Regions from separate parts of the Homo sapiens genome. Here regions 1, 2, 3 and 4 are each linked to region 5. The links are contacts of gene promoters, found by promoter capture Hi-C in human tissues and cell types (Jung and others, 2019). All regions are on one chromosome and are shown on one strand. Each heading gives the region's core, a stretch centred on a gene start or on the middle of the fragment in contact. The rest is flanking DNA. Distances are from core to core; before and after follow the strand shown. Region 1 overlaps PAAF1 (proteasomal ATPase associated factor 1). Region 2 overlaps RAB6A (RAB6A, member RAS oncogene family). Region 3 holds the start of MRPL48 (mitochondrial ribosomal protein L48). Region 4 holds the start of RAB6A (RAB6A, member RAS oncogene family). Region 5 holds the start of RELT (RELT TNF receptor).

Evidence for each region. The method cuts DNA at HindIII sites, captures the fragments that hold promoters and counts their contacts. A contact is called where the count stands out against the background at its distance.
Region 1: a fragment that was not itself captured here is called in contact with the fragment with the promoter of RELT in region 5 in 1 of the 25 tissues and cell types used here (thymus).
Region 2: a fragment that was not itself captured here is called in contact with the fragment with the promoter of RELT in region 5 in 3 of the 25 tissues and cell types used here (H1 embryonic stem cells, dorsolateral prefrontal cortex and lymphoblastoid cells).
Region 3: the fragment with the promoter of MRPL48 here is called in contact with the fragment with the promoter of RELT in region 5 in 1 of the 25 tissues and cell types used here (IMR-90 fibroblasts).
Region 4: a contact is called between the fragment with the promoter of RAB6A here and the fragment with the promoter of RELT in region 5, in 1 of the 25 tissues and cell types used here (mesenchymal stem cells).

What each region holds. Positions count from the first base shown.
Region 1 is chr11:73,883,950-73,886,649 of GRCh38, forward strand. All of the region lies in intron 2 of PAAF1 (proteasomal ATPase associated factor 1), which reads left to right. Among named protein-coding and RNA genes, the nearest start is that of PAAF1, 8.3 kb to the left of the region's middle. The HindIII fragment of the contact is 5,400 bases long and covers 1-2,700 here.
Region 2 is chr11:73,696,627-73,699,326 of GRCh38, forward strand. All of the region lies in intron 6 of RAB6A (RAB6A, member RAS oncogene family), which reads right to left. Among named protein-coding and RNA genes, the nearest start is that of PLEKHB1, 51 kb to the left of the region's middle. The HindIII fragment of the contact is 4,915 bases long and covers 1-2,700 here.
Region 3 is chr11:73,786,543-73,789,242 of GRCh38, forward strand. MRPL48 (mitochondrial ribosomal protein L48) reads left to right here and starts at 1,332. Exons shown (of 8, transcript NM_016055.6): 1 at 1,332-1,450. The coding sequence starts at 1,430. RefSeq lists enhancers at 1,266-1,325, 1,466-1,545. The HindIII fragment of the contact is 15,089 bases long and covers 1-2,700 here.
Region 4 is chr11:73,759,760-73,762,459 of GRCh38, forward strand. RAB6A (RAB6A, member RAS oncogene family) reads right to left here and starts at 1,315. Exons shown (of 8, transcript NM_198896.2): 1 at 807-1,315. The coding sequence starts at 876. It overlaps LOC124902711 (a long non-coding RNA gene), which reads left to right and starts at 1,399. Exons shown (of 2, transcript XR_007062775.1): 1 at 1,399-1,481; 2 at 1,978-2,700. RefSeq lists an enhancer at 466-966 and silencers at 1,263-1,572, 1,733-1,922. The HindIII fragment of the contact is 11,651 bases long and covers 1-2,700 here.
Region 5 is chr11:73,375,070-73,377,769 of GRCh38, forward strand. RELT (RELT TNF receptor) reads left to right here and starts at 1,330. Exons shown (of 11, transcript NM_152222.2): 1 at 1,330-1,430. RefSeq lists silencers at 1,050-1,359, 1,390-1,679, 1,770-1,849 and an enhancer at 2,015-2,309. The HindIII fragment of the contact is 25,019 bases long and covers 1-2,700 here.

The sequences.
Region 1 (2,700 bases), core at 38-2,537, 510 kb after region 5:
GGAAGGAGATTTTGATGGCAGGATAGATGGCATGAGAACCAGCTGCTGTGGGGAATGGGAGGGGTGAAAGGATTACAAAACTGCTGAGTTTAGAAACATGAATTGGATTGGTGACAGTCGGCACAGTTGTGTTCTTTTCTGGAGCAGTACTCAGCAGCCTGCATGTAGGAATGTAGAAGGTAAGTGGTTGGATTGATCCTAGTTCTGCTATTATATAGAGAAAACCAAGGCTGAGGTCATTTTAGTGACTTCACAAATGTAGAGAAGTCAGCTGGGCAGGGTAACTCACCCTGTAATCCAAGCACTTTGGGAGGCTGAGGCAGAAGGATTGCTTGAGCCCAGCAGTTCGAGACCAGTCTGAGCAACATAGTGAGACTCTGTCTCTACTAAAAATAAAAATAAAAAAAATAGCTGGGCATGGTGGCATGCAGGCTACTCAGGAAGCTGAGGCGGGAGAATCCCTTGATTCTGGGAGATAGAGGCTGCAGTGAACCATGATCATACCACTGCACTCCAGCCTGGGTGACAGAGCGAGACCCTGTCTCAAATATTAAAAAAATACATATATATACATCCACAAATGTGGAGAAGTCATTGAGTGATTGGTTGAAATGATGCACCATGAGGGCCAGACTTCTTAAGGCAGTTGGTAAACACAATAGGGAATCATGGAGTGGGATAAAAAGTGAAGTTGCTTCAGTTCTGTTTTTGTGGCATCTTTCTGAAATAGTGCTTCATGATACTTCCCTGTGAAAAGCGTCTTTACTAGGTCTTCTCTAGGCCAAACTTCTACCCTAGACTTTGAGTTTCTCTGGGATTTATCCCTCAACTATCATTTCCATGACTGCTATTACCAAACTGGTGTATTAATTGATGAATCCTTCCTTCTTGTTCTTTTTGACTTTCTTTTATTCTTTTTTTTTTTTTTGAGACGGAGTCTCGCTCTGTCGCCCAGGCTGGAGTGCAGTGGCGGGATCTCGGCTCACTGCAAGTTCCGCCTCCCGGGTTCACGCCATTCTCCTGCCTCAGCCTCCCAAGTAGCTGGGACTACAGGCGCCCGCCACTACGCCCGGCTAATTTTTTGTATTTTTAGTAGAGACGGGGTTTCACCGTTTTAGCCGGGATGGTCTCGATCTCCTGACCTCGTGATCCACCCGCCTCGGCCTCCCAAAGTGCTGGGATTACAGGCGTGATATTCTTTTTTTTTGAGATGGAGTCTCACTCTGTCACCCAGGCTGGAGTGCAATGGCGTGGTCTCGGCTCACTGCAACCTCTGCTTGCCAGGTTCAAGGTATTCTCCTGCTTCAGCCTCCTGAGTATCATAGCTGGGACTACAGGCACGTGCCACCACACCTGGCTAATTTTTGTATTTTTAGTAGAGAAGAGGTTTCACTATGTTGGCCAGGCTGGTCTTGAACTCCTGACCTTGTGATCCACCCACCTTGGGCTCCCAAAGTGCTGAGATTACAGGTGTGAGCCACCATGCCCGGCTGACTTTCTTTTATTCTTGATATGCTCCTCCTTGACTTGGAGTTTTCTTTTCCCTATTTTCTTCCTAGCCAGCTCCTATCTTTCTTTGAGGCTCCTATACTCTCTAGAAAGCCCTCCCGGCCTGGTCGTGGTGGCTCACACCTGTAATCCCAGCACTTCGGGAGGTTGAGGTGGGTGGATCACCTGAGGGGAGGAGCTCAAGACCAGCCTGGCCAATATGGTGAAACCCCGTCTCTACTAAAAATACAAAAATTAGCCAGGTGTGGTGGCACGTGCCTTTAATCCCAGGTACTTGGGAGGCTGAGTCATGAGAACTGCTTGAACCCAGGAGGTGGAGGTTGCAGTGAGCTGAGATCACGCCATTGTACTCCAGCCTGGGCGACAAGAGTGAAACTCCATCTCAAAAAAAAAAAAAAAAAAATCCCTCCCACTCTTGTGTGAATCCATGATGATTTCTGCTTCTCTCCTGTAACTTCAGTTTGGCTCAACATTTATTTACTGAATAATAAATGAATGTAGCACCCTGCTAGACTTAAGGACTTCACAGTCTGTTGGGCAAGTCAGACATGTAAACAGTGTGTTATGGGCTGTTATAGACATGAATATATAAGGTGTAGAAGAAGAATGGAAACAGTTTTTAACTTCATTCTATCATCTGCGTGTGTTTATGTGTAGGATAGTATCTTACTTAGCCCATATCTCTGCAAAATCAGTATTCTACTTAGGCAAATTTTACAGGTTACTGAAGCTTAATTCTTTACTATGTATTATGTGTATATACTGTAGATAAATACATGTATGCATACTGATCTTCACCTTTCATCCTGGAAGAATTACATTTCACAGCCAGTTACATCAGGTTGAGATCACTCTAAAAGCCCTCTCTACAAATGCTGTATCAAATCTCTAAATCTTTGTTCTTAGCTTTTAGTCTTGAAAATGTATTTTAGTCAGGCCAGGCGCGGTGGCTCACGCCTGTAATCCCAGCACTGTGGGAGGCTGAGGCGAGTGGATCACGAGGTCAGGAGATCGAGTCCATTCTGGCTAACATGGTGAAACCCCATCTCTACTAAAAATACAAAAAATTAGCCGACATGGTGGCGGGTGCCTGTAGTCCCAGCTGTTCGGAGGCTGAAGCAGGAGAATGGTGTGAACCCAGGAGGTGGAGATTCCAGTGAGCTGAGATCACGCCACTGCACTCCAGCCTGG
Region 2 (2,700 bases), core at 184-2,683, 320 kb after region 5:
TTTCCTTTCTTGAGACAAGGTCTTGCTCTGTCTCCCATGCATGATCATGGGTCACTGCAGCCTCATCCACCCAGGCTCAACCAATCCTCCCACCTCAGCCTCTGGAGTAGCTGGAACTACAGTCAACACACCACCATGCCTAGAATTTTTTTTTTTTTGCAGACACACACTCTCCCTATGTTGCCCAGGCTAGTCTTGAACTCCAGGGTTCAAGCAGTCCTCCCACCTTGGCCTCCCAAGGTGCTGGGATTACCGGGCATGAGCCATCGTGCCTGGCCTGATTACTTTTAAATTTTAAGTGAGATCCTGTCAAATCTCTCATGAAAATGGCTTCCTCTCTCACTGGGAATAAAATGCCAAATCCTCACTACTGCCCACATGGTCTTAAGGCCTCTGTTCTCCATAACTATCTCTGTGAGCTCTTTTCTTATCATATGCCCCTTCCTTCACTCTAGTGTAACCTTACTAATTTCCTTACTATTCCTTAAACATGACAAGTTCCTTTGAATTTGTCACTGCACTTGAAGCTTGGCATGCTCTTCCCTGGATGTATAAATGGCTCACTTTCTCAATTCCTTCAGTTCTTTGCTCAAATATCACCTTATCAGACAGGCTTTCCCTCCTTTTATAAGACATCAATATATCATAATTCCCTTCACCAGTATTCTTTATCCTTCTTACCCTACTTTATTTTTCTGTTTTTCTTTTCTTTTTTTTTCTTTTTGAAACAGTCTCACTCTGTCTCCCAGACTGGAGTGCAGTGGCATGGTCTCGGCTCACTGCAACCTCCGCCTCACTGCAACCTCCACCACCCAGGTTCAAGTGATTCTTGTGCTTCAGCCTTCTAAGTAGCTGGGATTACAGGTGAGCACCACCACACTCGGCTGATTTTCGTATTTTTAGTAGAGACGGGTTTCACTATGTTGGCCAGGCTGATCTTGAACTCCTGGCCTCAAGTGATCTGCCTGCTTCAGTCTCCCAAAACACTGGGATTACAGGCATGAGCCACTGTGCCTGGCCCCTACTTCATTTTTCTCTATAGAATCTATAACCTCCTTAAGGATTATATTTCACTAATTGTCTAACTCTCCATACCAGAATGTAAGCTCCATAATGGCACAGACTTAGGTATTTTGTTCCATTATTGTATCCCCAGTGCCTATAACATAACTAGGCATGCAGGAGGTGATCAACAAATATCTGAGTTAATTAATGACTGAATAAAACCTGATCAATATAATTTCTCTGTCAGTTCATATTCATTATACATATAGATTTCTGACCATTCAGTTATACTGAAGTCCTACTGTGGGCTGGGCATGGTGGCTCACGCCTGTAACCCCAGCACTTTGGGAGGCCAAGGTGGGCAGATCACCTGAGGTCAGGAGTTCAAGACCAGCCTGGCCAACATGGCAAAACTCCATCTCTACTAAAAAATACAAAAATTAGCCAGGCGAGGTGGAGCATGCCTATAATCCCAGCTATTCAGTAGGCTGAGGTAGGAGAATCACTTGAACCCTGGAGGCAGAGATTGCAGTGAGCCGAGATTGTGCCACTGCACTCCAGCCTGGGTGACAGAGTGAGACTCTCAAAAAAATAAATAAATAAAAATAAAAAATAAAGTCCTACTGTGTTAAGGATATGAAACACAAAAGGATAAATTGGGGTGAGGTTAAATTTGAGAGAGGCAGAATATAAGGCTTAAGATCTCAGATTTTGGAACTAAATAGACCTGGGCTCACATTGCAGTTTAAGTTATAATCTTAAGCAAGTTACTTGGCCTCTAAAACTTTGGTTTCATATCAGTGAAATGAATATACTTATCTACTTCATAGGGATATTGTGAGAATTAAGTTAAACACTTGGTACATTAAATGGATCTAGCAGATAGTATTTAGGCAATTCTAGGAAAGTTATATAATTTCTACGCTTCAGATTTTCTCTCTAAAATCAGACCAACAATAGCAGTTGACTCGTAGGATTGTTACATAGATTCCTTCTTGTATTCGACAAGTATCTAAGCACCTAGATATTGTATATAAAGTGCTTGCTAGGAAGGCAATATGAAAGATTTTAAGTGAACGTTCATGGCATAGTATTTACACTATGTGTGCTAGGTAGTCTTGTATCATACATATGTTAATTTTTCTTCTTCCTAGAAGCATCCCCAGTTACCTATCCAAATCAAGTACACTCAGTTCAGCTCAGATACTTTTTTTGCGATTTTTTTTTTTTTTTTTTTTGAGATGGAGTCTTGCTCTGTCGCCCAGGCTGTAATGCAATGGCACAATCTCAGGTCACTCCAACCTCCGCCTCCCAGGTTCAAGTGATTCTCCTGCCTCAGCCTTCCCAGTAGCTGGGATTACAGGCGCCCGCCACCACACCCAGCTAATTTTTTGTATTTTTAGTAGAGACAGAGTTTCACCATGTTGGTCAGGCTGGTCTCGAACTCCTGACCTCCGGTGATTCACCCACCTTGGCCTCCCAAGGTGCTGGGATTACATGTTTGAGCCACTGCGCCAGGCCGATAATGCTGTTTTTTAAACAAAGCATTCCTCAACCATTCTAACTATATGTGATATCATTCAATTAGTCAATAAACCTCTTTGTGCCAGCATTCGTTTTGCTTCTCTCCTTTTTAATTTTTTTGAATCAAGGGTCTTGCTCTGTCATCCAGGCTGGAGTGCAGTGGCGTGCTAA
Region 3 (2,700 bases), core at 82-2,581, 410 kb after region 5:
TTTCACAGTTTTGGTCAGGCTGGTCTCAAACTCCCGACCTTGTGATCCGCCTGCCTTGGCCTCCCAAAGTGCTGGGATTACAGGCATGAGCCACCGCACCCGGCCATGTATCTTATTAGATTGTATTTACCTGGACTAGACAAGGAAAGAAACTCTCTGGCTGCCAACCTGCCCTTTTGCAAACCTATAGTCACAGTCCCATAAAATAGATGAAGCACAGGCACGGAAATGAAACAGCTCACCACTTATATAACATTATGTTAACTAGGTACCTTCTTCCTGTCTCTGTTCCTCATCTGTGAAATGGGTATAATGATCCTCAGCCTCATAGGGTTATTGGAAAGACTAAATGAACCCATACACCCATAAAGAACCGACCTGGCACATACTAGCATTTGATTGATTTTTTTTTTCTTATTTAAAATTTCACTTCTAAAACCCCAATAGCATTTATTAGGCAATAATCAATCACTGTACTGGAGGAGGTATGCCTGGTCCATTATATTTCCAAGCATAATTAATTGTCGTATCTGTGTTACCTCAGTACTTTGCACACAATTCTGGTATTTCACTTACCATACTAGATACTAATTATTTGTTACTAGATACTAATTATTTTTTGCTATTATTTTGATTGAGTTCCTCAAGGACTGAGATCCTGACTAATTTATTCCAGCATCTAGCACAGGACGTGGAAATCTGACTTCTAAACTCAATTTAAGAGATGATTGGCTGGGCCTGGTGGCTCACGCTTGTAATCCCAGCACTTTAGGAGGCCGAGGCGGGCGGATCACCTGAGGTCGGGAGTTCAAGACCAGCCTGACAAACATGGAGAAACCTCATCTCTAGTAAAAATATAAAAATTAGGCGGGCGTGGTGGCGGGCACCTGTAATCCCAGCTACTTGGAGACAGAATTGCTTGAACCCGAGAGGCGGAGGTGGCAGTGAGCTGAGATCGTGCCACTACACTCCAGCCTGCGCAACAGAGCGAGACTCCGTCTCAAACAAACAAAAAAGTCAGATCTGTGCTAGACGCTGAAAGGAATTAATCAGACAGGATCTCAGTCTTTTAAGAACTTTCAAATACAGAGAAGAGGTGGTAACAAATCATTAGTGTATAATATTGTAAGCGAAAAATTAGAATTGTGTGCTAAGTACTGGGGTAACACAGAGATGGTAATTAATTCTTTCTGGAGAAACAGCAGTGAATGTGACAACCTGAGTGAGGGTGGAAAGCAGGAGAATTTCTAGACTCTGAATTTCAGAAGCTTCCGGAACTAAAATGATGTGGAAGTTGAGTGAGTCTCGGTGGGATATTGCTGCTGCACCTGGTCAAGGCCGTTCCTTCAGTGTTTTCAGACGCCCTGGGAACGCGGCTGCAGGGTCCGGTCTTCGGTTTGCACAGCTAGAGGCCGCGCAGCAGCAAAGGATGAGCGGAACCTTGGAAAAGGTAACGTAGATTCCACGCACGCGGGGCGCGGGGAGATGGCGGACGGTGCAGAGAGGGGAGATGGCGGAGGGTGCAGAGCGGGGAGGTGGCGGCGCGCGGACATCCGGGGATGAGACACTGGGGCGCCCAAGGTCCTTCCCAGCAGCACATGCGGCTGCCTGGCGTTGAAGGGGCTGAGCAGATTCCTTTCCACCCGGGGCGAACTCTGCCGAGCCGACCCGTGCCACGCCCACACCACATGCCACTCTCTCCACCCAGTTTCTGGAAAAGGGAGAGCTCTGCGATGGGAATCACGACACCAGGATACGGTCCCGATTAACTGTGTGACCTTGGGCAGGTCATTTTATATTTGCATTCAGTTATCAACTTCCAGAATTTTTTCTAAGAATGCAGTTTTGACTTGCTGAACTGATGAGGATGTGAAGCTACCTGGTAATAAGGAAACAGCAGTAATAAACTAGGTTTTTGTTCTTTTCTTTCTTTTTTTTTTTTTTTTTTTTTTGACGGATTTCGCTCTGTTGCCCAGGCTGGAGTGCAGTGGTGCGATCCCGGCTCACCACAACCTTCGCCTTCCGGGTTCAAGCGATTCTCCTGCCTCAGCCTCCTCAGTAGCTGGGACTACAGGCGCGGGACACCATGCCGGGCTAATTTTTGTATTTTTAGTAGAGACGGGGTTTCACTGTGTTGGCCAGGCTGGTCTCGAATTCCTGACCACGTGATCTGCCCGCCTCGGCCTCCCAAAGTGCCGGGATTACAGGCATGAGCCACCGCGCCCTGCAATAATTAACAACATTTTCGTTTCCAAAACCTTATTTAAGTGACTGTCATAAAACCGTATGAACCACTATAAATGTGTTCCTGGGCTTTCTCCCGTTCCCTTAACAGATTTAACAGATTTCATTTGTGCTCTTTCAATTGTATCATGCTGCTTAGATTAATGACTCATTTTAGCAATTTATATTAAAATTTTGTTTTAGGCATTAATTGTGGCAACTATATTTCCATGATTCATAGGTCAGCATGGTCGTTGCAGCTCATGGGTCTACCTGTGGTTACCTTGGGGCTGCCCTTGAATGTGTGAGGGCCCACGCCTCACTTCATCCTTTATGAAACAATTCACTTGTTCACCTTAGCCAGTTTGTAAGAATTTGGCCAAATATGGTGCCAAGATAATAGAAAAAAAAATCAGAAAGTTTCAAAATTCCATTGTTAAAGATGGTCACACTGGTGACTACACTCCTTGATTTGCC
Region 4 (2,700 bases), core at 65-2,564, 380 kb after region 5:
TCCAAGTAAAATGATCATGACATAGCATCTGGCAGAGATTGAAAAATCATCAACATTGCCAAAAGAATTGTCAGTGATGAAAGTCAAGAGAACAAAATGAGGTTTTCCGACAAGCCACAGCCCCATCTAACCTAAGGGGCAAAAATCTCCACTGCCGACGCTACCCCTTTCACCCCCAACCACCCCATGCTCAAGTCGTCTCCAATTCAGATGTTTCCTCTATGGCCCAGACTAATTTCCCACCCAGGTGAAAATCATTTAATTTTTTCTACTACCACCCCTTCCCACCTTCCACGACATCAGCACTTCGCAGGGCCAAGCCTCTGGGGAAAACAACGCCCAGATCCCACCCTCCTTGGCCAAGGTTGAAGAGGGCCCGCTCTCGGGAGTGGGGCTTCCCTGAGTGGGCCTCACAGAGCTGAGGAACTGGGAAAAGAGCAAGGAATAAGGGTGGGGCTCAAGAAAGGGGGCCGGGGTACGGGCAATGACCGAGACCGGAGGAAGAAAGGGATGGACAAGAGGCTGGGCGGGGTGAGGTCTGGGGAGGGAGGGCAGATCGACCGGAGATGGCCGGACTGCGGGGAACGGAGCCGGGGAGTCGAGGATTGAAGAACCCGGGGAACAGGGTAAAAACTCGGCCACTGGCGAAGAGCCAGTGGCACCGGGGGGCACATCGGGAAGGGCTGCGGTGGCAACGAGCGCGGACGCGAGGCGGGCAGGGAGCCTCCGCGGACGGAAGGGCCGCACCGGGGGCGGTGCGGGGACGCTGCGGCCAGCTGCCAGGAGTAGGGGAGCCACGCACTCACCGCTTTGCTCCCCCAGGAACACCAGCTTGAATTTCCTCAGCGGATTCCCGAAGTCTCCGCCCGTGGACATTGTGGAACTAGAGGAGCGGCCGCCGCCTCAGCCTAGAGACCTCCCGGACCGATGCTGCTCCAGCCAGCTGACGAAAAAGGCGAGCGGAAGGGCGGGCACCGAGCTCTCTCGGCCCCTGCAAGGCCCGGTGGAGGAGCCCGGCTGGAGGGCAGCAGGACTCTCCACAGACTGGCAGCCGCCGCCGCCTCCCGGCAGAGTAGCCTAGCACCGAGCGAGGCCCGCGGCTGGGAAGGGAAGGAGGGCGGTGTCGGCAGGAGCCAGGGGTGTCCTCTGGCTTCCCAAAGCTAGGGCCGTTCCCTCCTTCCGCACTCGGCTCCCAGACCTGGGGAAGAGAAGCTGAGGGTGGCGGAGCCGGAACCGCAGACGTATCTGGGACCTCTCACGCGCAGCGCCTGAGCTTCCACAGCTGCCGCCGCCGCCGCAGCCCAACCTGCTGAGTGCGCGAGCCTCTGGAGCGGCGCGGGGCGAGCCCGGGCGCGAGCCTGCGGCCCCGCCGGCCGCTGGCGTGCGTGCGTGCGTGCATGCGTGCGCGCCACCGCCATCGCCATCGCCTTCCTGGTTTGGACAGCTCTACCGGCTCCTCCCGCACGGCGGCGACGGGGCAGGTTAGGTTTCCACTGGCGTCAAAAGAAGCCAGGAGGAGGCGGGGCAAGCCAGGGATAAGTTAGTGGGAGGCTGGAGCCCTTACGTCACTTACATAATGAGCCAATCGGAAGGGGCTGAGGGCGAGCCCACACGCGAGTGAGGTGGCAGCGTGAGAGCGCGCGCAGCCCTCGAGCTGTGGAAAGCGGAGCACTGTGGCGGCCATAAGAAGTGTGGCGCCTCTCAGCCTGAGGGGAGGGGAAGGAAAGAAAGGGGAGGGGGAGAAGGGTGGGGCGGAGGCGGGGCCGGGACAAAGGTGGAATATGATCCCCCAAAAAGTGTGGGTGGGGTCCTATAGCCTTAAAATTTGTAATGGGAGCCTCTTTCCTGAGCCCTCAGCCGTGCCTCACAGTCCTCAGATCCCTTCTTCACCATTGCACACACCCCACCTTCTCCATCCTCTCATCATAATTCCTCACAGGCATCTTACTAAATAACATTCTCCTCCATTGCTCCCAGGAATGTTATAACTGCCAGAATCATGGCCTCCCAATTTTGCAGATGAGGAAACTGAAGCTTAGAGGGAGTAAATGACTTGCAAAATCCATAAAGCGGGCTGGGCGCGGTGGCCCACGGCTGTAATCCCAGCACTTTGGGAGGCGGAGGCGAGTGGATCACGAGGTCAAGAGATCGAGACCATCCTGGCCAACATGGTGAAACCCTGTCTCTACTAAAAATGCAAAAATTAGCTGGGGGTGGTGGCGCGCGCCTGTAGTCCCAGCTACTCGGGAAGCTGAGGCAGGAGAATCGCTTGAACCCGGGAGGCGGAGGTTGCAGTGAGCCGAGATCACACCACTGCACTCCAGCCTGGCGACAGAGCGAGACTCCATCTCAACAGAAAAAAAAAAAAAAAAAAAAAAAAAAAGCCGGGCGTGGTGGCTCATCCCTGTAATCCCAGCACTTTGGAAGGCTGAGTTGGGTGGATCACCTGACGTCAGGAGTTCCAGACCAGCCTTGGCCAACATGATGAAACCCCATCTCTACTAAAAATACAAAAAATTAACGTGGTGTGGTGGCGGGTGCCTGTAATCCCAGCTACTTGGGAGGCTGAGGCAGGAGAATCGCTTGAACACGGGAGGCGGAGGTTGCAGTGAGCCAAGGTCACACCATTGCACTCCAGTCTGGGCAACAAGAGCGAGACTCTGTCTCCAAAAAAAAAAATCCATAAAGCAGCTGGGCGCG
Region 5 (2,700 bases), core at 80-2,579:
CCTTACAAAGAAAACATTTCCAGGAGTGGAGGCATTCTGGATGCTCTGGCCTTCCGTAGGCTGGGATGTGGGACCCTGGAAGAACCCCTGCCCCAGCCCTGGAGGTCTCCATTGACATATGAGGGTGCTGATGTCATGATCCTGACATCAATGACCTGTAGCTCCTTATGCCCTTCCCCCACAACCTGAGCATGACCCAGGGAAATGAAAACTCATCCCCTGCTCCCCTCCCCATGCGGTGTCCAGTTCGCCTCCTGGAATCTCCTGGACCCTGGGGACCTGACCTTTTCCGTCTCCTAGCCCCTGGGTTCAGATTCTATGACTGTTTAGAACCCCACCCCCAGCCATCTATCCCCAGCTGACTTATTTACCTTCCTTTCTCCATCTCTGTCATGGGCTGTGATTATCCTGACCCCAGCCAGGCCTCTGGCCCAGCACTAGGTCCTCCCTGGTGTCTCAGTCTCCCATCAGCCCTACTGTCCCAGGAGGACCGCCTGAGATCCCCTGAATAGTACTGAGAGGGGGAACGGGCCACTGAGCTGCTCCCTCCAGTCCTGGCACACCCTGTAGCACAACTCCAGGGGACACGATTCGGAGTCGGAATACAGTGTGAATACTGCCTGGAGTTTGTGATGACTGGCATTGGAAACTGGCAGGGTGGGATGGCTGTAGTAGGGAGGGGGGCACTGAGTCACCTGTCCTGCTGGAGGGAAACTAACTACCCTGGCACAGAGAAGTGGTGCGGGGAGTAGGGGAGTGGAGGCAGGAGACGCCTCCTGGAGGATTTCACTAGGCCTTGAAGGATGTGCCGAAGCCCACCGTGTGGGCTTCCTTTATAGACTCACCTTCACCAGGCCTTTTCGCCAACTAGGTGAGGGTTTCCAGGGTTGGGCCTGGGCCTCGTCAACAAAGCAAAGTGAGGTTATTCTTCCTGGCCACCAACTGGCAGGAGGAAGATGAAGCCCAGAAAGGGGCAGAGGTGGCTCTAGTTACACTGGCAATGCTGAGAGGACCCAGAGGAGTATCTCAGTCTCCAGTCTCTTTATCTTGCTTCGCACAACTCCTTGCTTGGTTCAGAGCCTTGAAGAGGCGGATACAAGAGGCCCTCTGGGCACCGCCGCCCAGTCCCGCGCAGCCCCCTGCAGTTCCCAGGGGCGCGAGAGAGGGCGACGTAGAGCAGCACCGCCCAGCGGCAGAGCGGCGAGCCCCTCCGCGGCTCGGGGTGAGTCGGGCGCGGGGCGCAGACCGCGCTCTGACGTCGGGGGCGGAGCGGCCGTGACGCGCGGGGGCGGGTCTGCGCACCTTCCCGGCCCAGCCGGCGATTCATTCAAAAGGCGCGCAGGCTGCGCGGCTGTCCGGGCGCTCGCCGAGCCGGGCCGCGGCGCCGAGTCGAACGGGGAGCCGAGCTGGAGCTGCCGCGGCGCAGCCAGGTAAGGAGGGCGCGCGGAGCGCCCATCCAGAGTCTGCTCTCCGCGGCCGGGCCAGCGGGATACGGACCCTAGTGGCGCCCCCTGCCTCCCCGTGTCTCTGAGGAAGTTCGCGGGCTCGGCGGATGCGGCAGCCCGGCCGCGCGCCCCCCCACCCCACTCCTCCCGCCTCGCGTCCTGTCCCGGCGCCTTCCGCGCACCGGCCACCGCCAGTCTCCGAGCCCCGTGACCTGCAGGTCCTCCGGCCGCGACTCCGGGCCGGCCCTGCGTGGTGGCTGTCGGGGGGCGCGCGGGGAAGCAGCGGAACTTGCGGTGTGAGGGGCCGGCGGGGCCCGGAGCGGTCCCCGGCCCGGGAAACTTGGACCGAGACCAGGTTGTGGTGCGGGCTGGACGGCGGCGCCTCGGCGCGGCTGCGGCGCGGGGCGGCCAAGGGGGGGTCTGGATGGTGTCAGCCCGTGACTGTGGGTGACACGGCGCGTGAGGCGGCCTGGCCGGGCGAACGTGTGGCTGGGACACTGGGCGGTGACGCCGGGCCGAGCGGGCGACACAGAGGGGCTCTGTGTGTGGGAGACAGGCAGCGTGTGTGCGTGTGTTGTGTGAGGGAAAGACCCGGGGTCACTGGGGTCACGAAGTGCGTGGCTTGGGGCGTGACCGGCGCAGGGCCAGGGCCACCCGTTACTGTGAGTGTGAAATAGAGGGAGAGGAGCCCAAGTGACTGAGAACGAGCCGAGCTCGCTGGCGCCATGGTGTGCGTGTGGGGTCAAGTGGTGTCAGTGTGTGTGTGTGTGTGTGTGTGTCTGCGCCTAGGGTGATGATGAGTAAGAGGCAGGAGGAGGAGGGACCGGACCTAGGACACCTTCCGGCAGATGTGGGGCGATGAGGAAGTTGGGGAGCCAGGAGACAAGGGTCTCCAGGACTGTCCCCACGAGGGCACCCCTCAGGAGTTCAGCTTGGTGAGGAGATGGACCCTGAGGGATAGGCCCTGGCTGAGGGAGAAAGCCGAGGCTGGGCAACATCTGGTGGGGTGGCCCAGATGGCAGCAGGGTAGGGGCCCTGTGGTAGTCTCAGCTTCCCCCCGCCCACCTGCATCCACACACTCACGCATCGAAGTCCCTACACCTGGCAAAGTTCTGCCCCTGTGTAATCTGTATTCTCAGCGGACCCGGACACAATCTTGTTCTCAGACCCCCCCGCCCCCCTCCCCCGCGCAGGCCTCAGTCTCCCCATCTGCACACTGAGGTGCTGGGCTTTGAATGGACTGTGAATCATCACT